Regions from separate parts of the Homo sapiens genome. Here all the other regions are linked to region 2. The links are contacts of gene promoters, found by promoter capture Hi-C in blood cells and fetal thymus (Javierre and others, 2016). All regions are on one chromosome and are shown on one strand. Each heading gives the region's core, a stretch centred on a gene start or on the middle of the fragment in contact. The rest is flanking DNA. Distances are from core to core; before and after follow the strand shown.

Evidence for each region. Contacts are between HindIII fragments. The CHiCAGO score rates a contact against its expected background, and 5 or more counts as called.
Region 1: a fragment that was not itself captured here is called in contact with the fragment with the promoter of SLC71A1 in region 2 in 2 of 17 cell types (erythroblasts and fetal thymus); the score reaches 7.0 in erythroblasts.
Region 3: a fragment that was not itself captured here is called in contact with the fragment with the promoter of SLC71A1 in region 2 in 1 of 17 cell types (erythroblasts); the score reaches 6.9 in erythroblasts.

The regions. Positions count from the first base shown.
Region 1 is chr1:100,440,701-100,443,833 of GRCh38, forward strand. It overlaps CDC14A (cell division cycle 14A), which reads left to right. Exons shown (of 16, transcript NM_003672.4): 7 at 2,234-2,296. Among named protein-coding and RNA genes, the nearest start is that of CDC14A, 90 kb to the left of the region's middle. The HindIII fragment of the contact is 5,917 bases long and covers 1-3,133 here.
Region 2 is chr1:100,036,503-100,039,436 of GRCh38, forward strand. It overlaps SLC71A1 (solute carrier family 71 member 1), which reads left to right and starts at 1,593. Exons shown (of 12, transcript NM_033055.3): 1 at 1,593-1,814. The coding sequence starts at 1,731. It overlaps LOC124904230 (a long non-coding RNA gene), which reads right to left and starts at 1,506. Exons shown (of 7, transcript XR_007066251.1): 1 at 1,228-1,506. RefSeq lists enhancers at 1,065-1,667, 1,630-1,909 and silencers at 1,390-1,569, 2,030-2,219. The HindIII fragment of the contact is 6,938 bases long and covers 275-2,934 here.
Region 3 is chr1:100,460,946-100,463,756 of GRCh38, forward strand. It overlaps CDC14A (cell division cycle 14A), which reads left to right. Exons shown (of 16, transcript NM_003672.4): 9 at 1,706-1,936. Among named protein-coding and RNA genes, the nearest start is that of GPR88, 76 kb to the right of the region's middle. RefSeq lists an enhancer at 1,203-1,824. The HindIII fragment of the contact is 301 bases long and covers 1,302-1,602 here.

The DNA.
Region 1 (3,133 bases), core at 379-2,878, 400 kb after region 2:
ATAATGTCACATGGACTATAAATATATTATCAGTAGCAATTCTAGTTCATTTCTTGGATGTAATATAAAACTGATTTTTGCTGTGTTTTGAGTTGAGAAAATTGGTGTGATAAATGTGCTACCTGTTTTATACATGGTTGTTTCTATTTAATTTAAAATGAATTTAAACCCTATCAAACTTTAAAATGGTTTTCAAATCTTTTTCTTTCTACTTAAACAACTACAGAGATACTCTAGCCCACTCTTGCAACAATATTACCAAGGTGCATTTCCAGTAATGCCAGTTAAGAGCTTCTATGGAGACGTTACCCAACATATAACAGTTGATTATAGCATTTGGAAAATATGCCTGAGGGAAAAAATAATTTATTTATCGTCACTATTATTATTTTGCCTTTTCTACCATCTGCTACAGGCCATTTGTTTTATAACACTTAAAAAATTTAGAAAGTTCACACTGGAATATCGCTGCCTGTAATTATGGTAATTAGTAACTCAGTATAGAAAGTTGTGGCATCCTTCCTGTTGTAGAGGAAAGGTATGTAAACTTGTTTCATCAAATGTTGGGGTTAACTCAAAGACAAATGAGATTTTGGAGGATCTGATAGATTGTGCAGCATGTCTTTAAGCACCTGAGACATTTCCTGTAAGTTCATTCTCTTACATAAGGCACCATATTCTGGGCTATTTTTGTGTGGCAACGAGTAGTACCATTCCAAGAACCTATACAGAGTATGGCCACATTTTTGCCTTTTTAGGGAGCACATTTCTCTGATTTTAATGTATTGGCATTGTCATAAGTATAGTTTATATTCCATGTTATGTGAACTACTATACATGGATATAAGCAAACCCTTTGAAAATACAGAGGAAAAAAAAGTGAATCCTTCAGAGAGTTTGTATATTTTTCTCACTTTTTTGTCTGGAAAGGTGCATATGGATGAACTCAGTTTTTTTTTTTTTTTTAGAATGGACTAATTTAAATAATTTGTTCTGCTTATTCTGTAGGGGTTGTTTAAACCAGTGTTATCAGAATTTTGCATTTCTAAGAATCACCTGGGAAGCTATGCTGAAAATGGTGATCCTGGGCCCCAACCACAGCAAATATGATTTGATAGTTCTGGGGTGGGGCCCAGGAGTCTGCTTCTTTCATATGAATTACCCTAAGTGTTTCTGATGCTGATGGCGCATGTTCTGTGTTTTGAAAAAACACTGATAGATGTACTGGAGCTTGGCTTGCTAGTTTCTTTTTCTATTTTTAATGACTTGATCATGTAACTTTTAAATGTACCTGTGGTTTTGTATTCTGTTGTAATCTGTATAGCTTCATGATTTATAAAATAAAAGATTCTGTTCTCTTTAAAATATTAGATCTGAGCTAGCTGGATAGTTTTTAAAAGTTCTAAGTCATTGTTTACAAAACTGAGTATGACTTTTACTTTGTGATAAAAATATGTTTTTTTTTTTAAATTGTAAGAGCAGTCAAGTATAATTCTACTTTGTCAGAAACTATCTCATGAAACAGATTCTCCCAAGGTAGAGTTTTAGGAACAAATAAGGGCCTATTAAGTAGAAATATTAAGAAATATTACATATATATTATGTATTGTATATATAAATATACTATATTATGTATTATATATAAATATACTATATTATATATAGTATATATAAATATATACTATATATTATATATAAATATATATATTCTCTCATCAAATATTATTAAGGACCTATTAAGTAGAAATATTAAGGAAGAAAAAACAGTAAAAGATGCAGGGTTTTTTTGGGGGGCTAAATATCTCCCTATGATAAAAGGAAGACAAAAACTCATAAGAATAATTGATTTTTCTTCTCCTAACAAAGAAGTTAATCACTATGATCTATTCTGTCATAGTTAGGTCTAGTTCCCAACAGGTTCTAACTATAAATTTGTTTTATTTCATTTTGTATACATATAATTTTACATACAAAACTGATGTAAATTAGAAATCAAGGCATCTTTTGTGGGGCTTTTTCATGTTATTCTAAGTGTTTTTTTAGTTCCAGTAAGACAGTCTTAATGCAATATAACCAGTTTTATAAAAAGATTTCTAGATATGCATTAAACATCAAAGGTTTCAAGCTGTCTCTTCAGATTAGTGAGGATCATTTCTGTAAGTAGGAGTTCCAGAAATGATGAGTAGAGTTTATCAATTTAGCATGGAAAAACTAATTCAAATTCTGCTTTTAGGGATTACAACATGGATTTTTTGACTTTGAGACATTTGATGTGGATGAATATGAACATTATGAGGTTTGTACATTTAATTTTTTTTACAAAACATAATTTCATGTTGATTAATTTTTTCCCCCTGTCACACTCATGTATTGCAAATCGAGTGGGTGCTAAATAAAAGCATTCTGGAGTTTTCCATAGTGGTCAGTTTTGTCCTTTCAGCCTTGGTTATTTCCTTTGAATCAGGAGTCACCAAAATTTTATTTTGGAAAAACAACATATCTATATATATTCTCTCATTTATATACAATCACTTTGCACCTTTAGTTTATAAGAAAAATCTAGTAGGGTAGTAAAATTATGTTACTTTTATTTTAGAAATCAGGTTTTATTTAAAATAAAACTGAATTTGTACCTTTTATTTATTTATTTTTGAGGCGGTGTCTAGCTCTTTTGTCCAGGCTGAAATGCAGTGGCACAATCTCGGATCACTGCAACCTCTGCCTCCCCAGGCTCAAGCTATCCTCCCACCTCAGCCTCCCAAGCAGCTGGAATTACAGGTGCATGCCACCATGTCTGGCTAATTTTTTTTTTTTTTTAAAGACAGGATTTCACCATGTTGCCCAGGCTGGTCTTGAACTCCTGAGCTCAAGTGATCCTCTTGCCTCGGCCTCCCAAAGTGCTGGGATTACAGGCATGAGCCACCATGCCAAGCCCCCTTATAATATTTTTGGTTGTATAAATTTTATTTTGAAATATGGCTGAATTTACTTAGTTCTAAAAGTTCACTGAATTTTTTTTTCCCCATGGCATCATTACAAGACTTTTGATTAATGTCTTGACTGCTCAAAATGCAGGCAAAGGCTATCTCCAAGCTGGTTTGCGCTGTAAGGAGATGTTGAAGCAGAGTAGGAT
Region 2 (2,934 bases), core at 343-2,842:
TGATTGGAAAATATAATTAGAAGTATCTATCAGGCTATAAATTGCTTTTCTTCTCCCTTCCATGGAAATTAGTTTTTTTTTCCATTTTTAGTCAGTATGAAAATACAAGGAAAAGGAAATTCAATCAAATTTACTTTTTAACATTTTATTTGGAAATAATTTCAAACTTACAGAAAAGTTGCAAAAACAGTACAAAGAACTCATACATTCATTTACTGTTTTTCCTTTTACCCTATATATTAGTTATTTATAGCTGTGTAACAAATAACCCCAAAGCTTAGTGGCTTACACCAAGTACTTTTCATCTTACACTGTTTCTGAGTCAGGATTCCAGGAGTGGCTAAGCTAGGTGGTCCTACCTCTGGGTCTCTCATGAAGTTGTAGTCAGCCAAAGGCTTGACCAAGGTTGGAGGATCTACTTCCAAAGTGACTCACTCCGTGGCATTTGGTAGGAGGCTACAAACAGTTCCTGGACAACTGGATCTCTCCATAGGCTGCTTGAGTGTCCTGAAAACACGGAAGCAGGCTTCCCCAGGCTCCAAGCCCCAAAATGAATGAAAAAGAGACCCGCAAAGGAAGATGCAGTGCCTTTTATGACCTAGCCTCTGAAGTCAATACTGTCACTTCTGTTTTGATCTATCAAGAGTCACTAAGCCTAGTCTACACTCAAGGGGAGGGGAATTAGAGTCCACCTCTTCCAGGGAGGAATATCATTGAATCTGTGAACATATCTTAGAACTACCATACCTAGTTTCAGTACTTTTAAACATTCGCCATTTTGCTTTGTCCCTCTCTTTTCCCCACCTACATATACATACACATACATGTTACTCCCTAACCATCTGAGAGTAGGGAGCATGCGGTGTATCCCTATCCCTCGTGTTTTTCTCTTAAGGAAAAGGATATTCTATTATACAACACGGTAGTTATCAATATCTAATTTTAACATTGTGATACTTTAAAGTCCACTTCCACTTGTGTAAATTGCCCTTTCTAGCAATGTTCCCATCAAATTTATTTTTAAACAATACAGTAAAAACGTAGAGGGCCACAAAGGGTGACATCGGTCAGGTAAGGTATTTTTTTTGGCAGGGAATAAAAAAGGTCCTGGGTCTAGGGAGGTAAACAAGCGTGAGCCAGCTGAGTTCTAGCGGGGGTCCCTGAACACCAAAAGGACAAGACTGTTTCTGAAACACTACATTATCTCTTAAGTTACCCATTACTTACGGAAAATGATTTTTTACTGTTCCCTTCGGTTCCTGTCTTGGTTAGAACACAGCTGGAGATTGTGTTAATAGCTTAGGACGTCTGTTTCCGTGAGCAGGTAACAACTTTTTGAAACAAATTCCCTCATCTGCTGAAGAAGGGGGACAAAAACGGCCCCTATCGCCCAGAACCGTTGCGAGGATTTAGCTAGCTGGTGACGCCGGAGCACGAAGTTGTACAGGTAGCCAGCAGCACCCACGCGAGCCCGCGGTTACCCTGGCCGCGCGGCTACTGTAGAGTGGGCTGGCGGCGAGCGGGCGGGGCGGTATCACGCGGGAGGGGCGGGGCCCGCTCGTCGGCTGATCGCACGATTGTGACGCGCCGCCGGAGGCAGGCCGGGCCCTCAAGATGGCGGCGGGCGCCCAGAGCGGCTCGGCCCGGCAGTAGTGGTGGGACGGCACTAGCTGCTGGGGCCTGCCGCCCCGGGAGTGGCTGCAGCAGCGCCAGGAATCGAGGATGGTAAAATGACCCAGGGGAAGAAGAAGAAACGGGCCGCGAACCGCAGTATCATGCTGGCCAAGAAGATCATCATTAAGGACGGAGGCACGGTGAGCTGAGTTCCGCGCCGGCGAGCGTCCCTCGGGGCCCCCATCCGGTCTCTCCTTCAGACCCCCACACTGCCGTCTCTAGGCGTCCCGGTGCCTCCCTCCCTTCCCCCACCCTGTCCGAGCTGCCGGTGCCTCGGGGTCGCGGACCCGCATGCCGCCGCTCCGGGAATCGTCCTCCGCTGCTCGGGCTTGCGGCCTCCGGGGCCCGTCCTCTTTCTTTCCCGCACCTGCCGCCCTCTGCTCTGGCCGCCTCTGCAGGCCCTGCGGCCTCGAACCCCACGTGCGCCTCCGCCGCGGGGAGGAATGTGCGGGGCTCCCCCGGCGGCCCGCCCGCCGCGCCCCTCGTCGCCGCAGCCTCGCCTCGCCTTCGCCGCCAGGCCCCGCGGAGCCGTCGCCGCGCTTGTCAAGGGGCTGGGAACCATCCCTGCTCTCCCATATGTTGCTAACGGGGTGGCGTCTGGCGCGGGGATCCCGCTGCGGCCCCGTAGTACGTTCGCTTTCTGTTTCCACGTCTCTCTGCGTCGGTGCTCCGGCTCTGGGCTGCTTACAGTAAACCCTGACCGGAGATGGGCTTCCCTCACTTCCCGGAGTCGGAAGCATGACGGCAGACACCTGGGGCCTACATTCGAACCTGCTAGTTTTCAAAGAAAAGTCATCACTGTGTGTCTTAAGATCAAAAGTATTAGAATCAGTCATGGCCTAAGGATCGGAGGAGGACACTTTGAAGGGAAGAAAGGTTTGCTTTTTAGAAACAGTTGTCATCACAGTAAACTTTATGCAGTGTGTAGTTAACCAGCTGGGGACGTAGGATTTTTAATTGAAAAACAAAACAAAACAAAACTGTTTTATGCTAACATTTCTCCGTTGCTACACTGTGTGGTCTTTGTTGCATCCGCTGATACCGCGTTCTGAAATAGAATGGAAAGGTGATATATATGTTTCACTTACCTGAAGTGTGCAGAAATTGTACCATTAATTCCATTTCTGTTTATATCTTATTGGAGCCGCGATCAACTGCTAGCACAGTAGTAAATGTGTAAGTAGGCCACCATTGAGGATTTGCTGAATTCAGTTGAAAAACGTGACAAAATTTTATGACATTTCAGAACACGGCCCAGTC
Region 3 (2,811 bases), core at 202-2,701, 420 kb after region 2:
AGAACTAGGCTTAGAAGATGAACAGGACCCAAGTGGGAAAATGGGAACCACACTAGGCATTTCAAACATAAAGCATTTAATACAAGGAGTTTATTTCAAAGAAGACTAAAAAGTAAAAAGGCAACACTGAAGAAACCAGAATATGTTGGAGAAAACAGCTAGTACCTTTAAGGCTGGGGGGACAAAAGGGACAAAAGTGGAGTTAGCAGAACCTGCTCCTGTTTTCTGCTGCTGAAGTGATGCTGCCAGGAGGACAGGAAGAATTCCCTTCCTCCTCCTCAGGTTGAGGTTTAGTGCCTCCCATTTTTACAACCAATAGGAAGCCAGATAGAAAGGTAGTCTGGGAAATGTAGGGCGTAGTATATGGACTCCAGCCCCAGTGTCACAGAGCATAAGAGTCGGCTTGGAGCTGAGAGCTGACTAGCATAACAGGGATCCAAGGCAGCAAGAAATACAGCCAAGCACACAGCGTGGAAACAGTCTGGTTCACTTTGCTGGCTGCCGCCACCCCTGGAACCTCCCATCATGAATGGGTTCCAACTGAGATAATTGCACTCAGCTGGTATGTTAGGGTTCAGTGAATTCTGAATGGGTTACAGATGTGGCCATCAGTGTGCTGGGAACTTAGTCCCCTGAACTTTTGGAGCTGCCATTGCAAGGCCTGCAAAGGCCAAAGCCCCCAGTGGTTGCCTTGGCTGATTAGCTAAGGCTAGGTCTGTAACCCAGCTGACTGTGTAGCTCCCAGGAATACTCACATGATGGTGGAGCCACTCAAAAATAAAAGGGGATTTAAAGGTGGAGCATCTTCCTCCCTCAAAAAAAGGAAGTGTCCACAAAAGTTATTGTTTATTTTTAACTAAAAAAATTTATATTTTAATTGATAAAAATTATATATTTATGGTGTACAACAACTTTTGAAATATGTATACATCGTAGAATGGTTAAGTCAAGTCTTACTTAAGTATTCACATATTTATCATTTTTTGTGGTGAGAAGACTTAAATTTTACTTTCTAAATGACTTTAAAGTATATAATACATTGTTATTATAGTCACTATGTTGTACAATAGATCTCTGGGACATACTCCTTTCTAACTGAAATTTTGTTTTCTTTGACCAATATCCTCCCAACACCCCCTCTTTTAGTTTCTTAATCTGTTAAATGGAATTAGCCATACTTAAGAGATGGTTTTGAGAATTTGAAATGATACGCAATTGTGACTTGTACATAGTAGGTGCTTAATAATAATTGCTTCTGGGGAGCATTGTACTACAAATTAAAACTATACATATGGCAAAAAAGCTTCAGCTGTAGTTGAAAACTGTTTGTCAAGTAGAGAATAAAGCTCAAGAGAGAATAAAGTCACCATTCTAGGTCTGTTATGCACATTTGATTACTTCAAGAATGCTTTTGTCTTGGGAGTGGGAAGAGTATGCTCCCAGGATTCGAATCTAGAGGTTGAGATTTTGAACTTTAATGATGTATTTTCAGTACTTACAGAAGTTTTCTTTTTAACCTCCTGTGGTGCTTACAGTTATGCAGATTGATGCTTGTAGGAGCTTGCTGTGACCTCTTCTCTCACACAACACACTTTCCTCCCAAGCTTTGTTGAGATTTATACACTTCATTGTTGAGAGTTTTGTATTTCTGGGTTGTGGAAGATGAAATGCATGCCTTTTGCTTACTGCTCCTTTGTTCCTTTAGGTTATCCTCTTCACGCCCCTGAAGCCTACTTTCCTTATTTCAAAAAGCATAATGTGACTGCAGTTGTGAGGCTAAACAAAAAGATTTATGAGGCAAAGCGCTTCACAGACGCTGGCTTCGAGCACTATGACCTCTTCTTCATAGATGGCAGCACACCCAGTGACAACATCGTGCGAAGGTTCCTGAACATCTGTGAGAACACCGAAGGGGCCATCGCCGTTCACTGCAAAGGTGTGTGCAAGGCCTCGGTGGTGGTGGCTGTGCTTATCGAAGGGGCGGGCCAAGGAAGAGCAAATAACATAAAACAAAACCTGTTTAGTGTCTTAGAAAAACAATGAGGTTTTAAATTTCAGACAACTGGGACACAAACTCATTTTAATAACCCCTTCTTAAAGAAACGATTGCTTGGGTGTGGACAATTGGTGGTGGTGTGGCTTTCTTGATATGCCAGTTTTTCAGACCTTACCTTTCCAGGCCCACGTGCCACAATGAGGGGAAACACAGTAGCAGTGTCTTTAGGCTGCAGGAACACCTTTAAACAGGTAAAATTCTCAAGAGACAAGGGTTGTTAGTTTTCCTCTCTCCTTTGTTTTTTTTCAGAATTGCCCATCTCTTCTCCATCCTCTTGCACTGTCGTGGTTCTGTTTTATGACCCAGTTATCTGGACCCCCATTCCAGTCTCTGCTTTTCCCTCCCCTCCTAGTCTTTGGCTTCATGGAGCAGAGCGTCTTCCATGCCTGTTGCTAGGGGCAATCCGCTAGCTTACAATGCTGCTGATGTGATGCTGCCTCATGGAATAAACTTAAAGAGTTTGTTTTGCAAAAATCTCTGATCTCTGGGGGTGGATACTTTGGGGCAGGAATTGTTCAGACTATAGAAGGTTTAGGATTGCCAGATTTAGCAAATAAAAATACAGGCTGCCTAATTAAATTTGAAAGTTAGATAAACAATGAATACTTTTAAAACAAAAAGTATAAATATGTCCCAAATATTGCAGGGAACATGCATTCTGTATTTTATCTGGCAACCCCATGTCAGCTACTCAGAAAATATGACATGCCATTTGCTCTAAGCTTGTTTGACTTCGAGGAGGCTTAAAATCCACT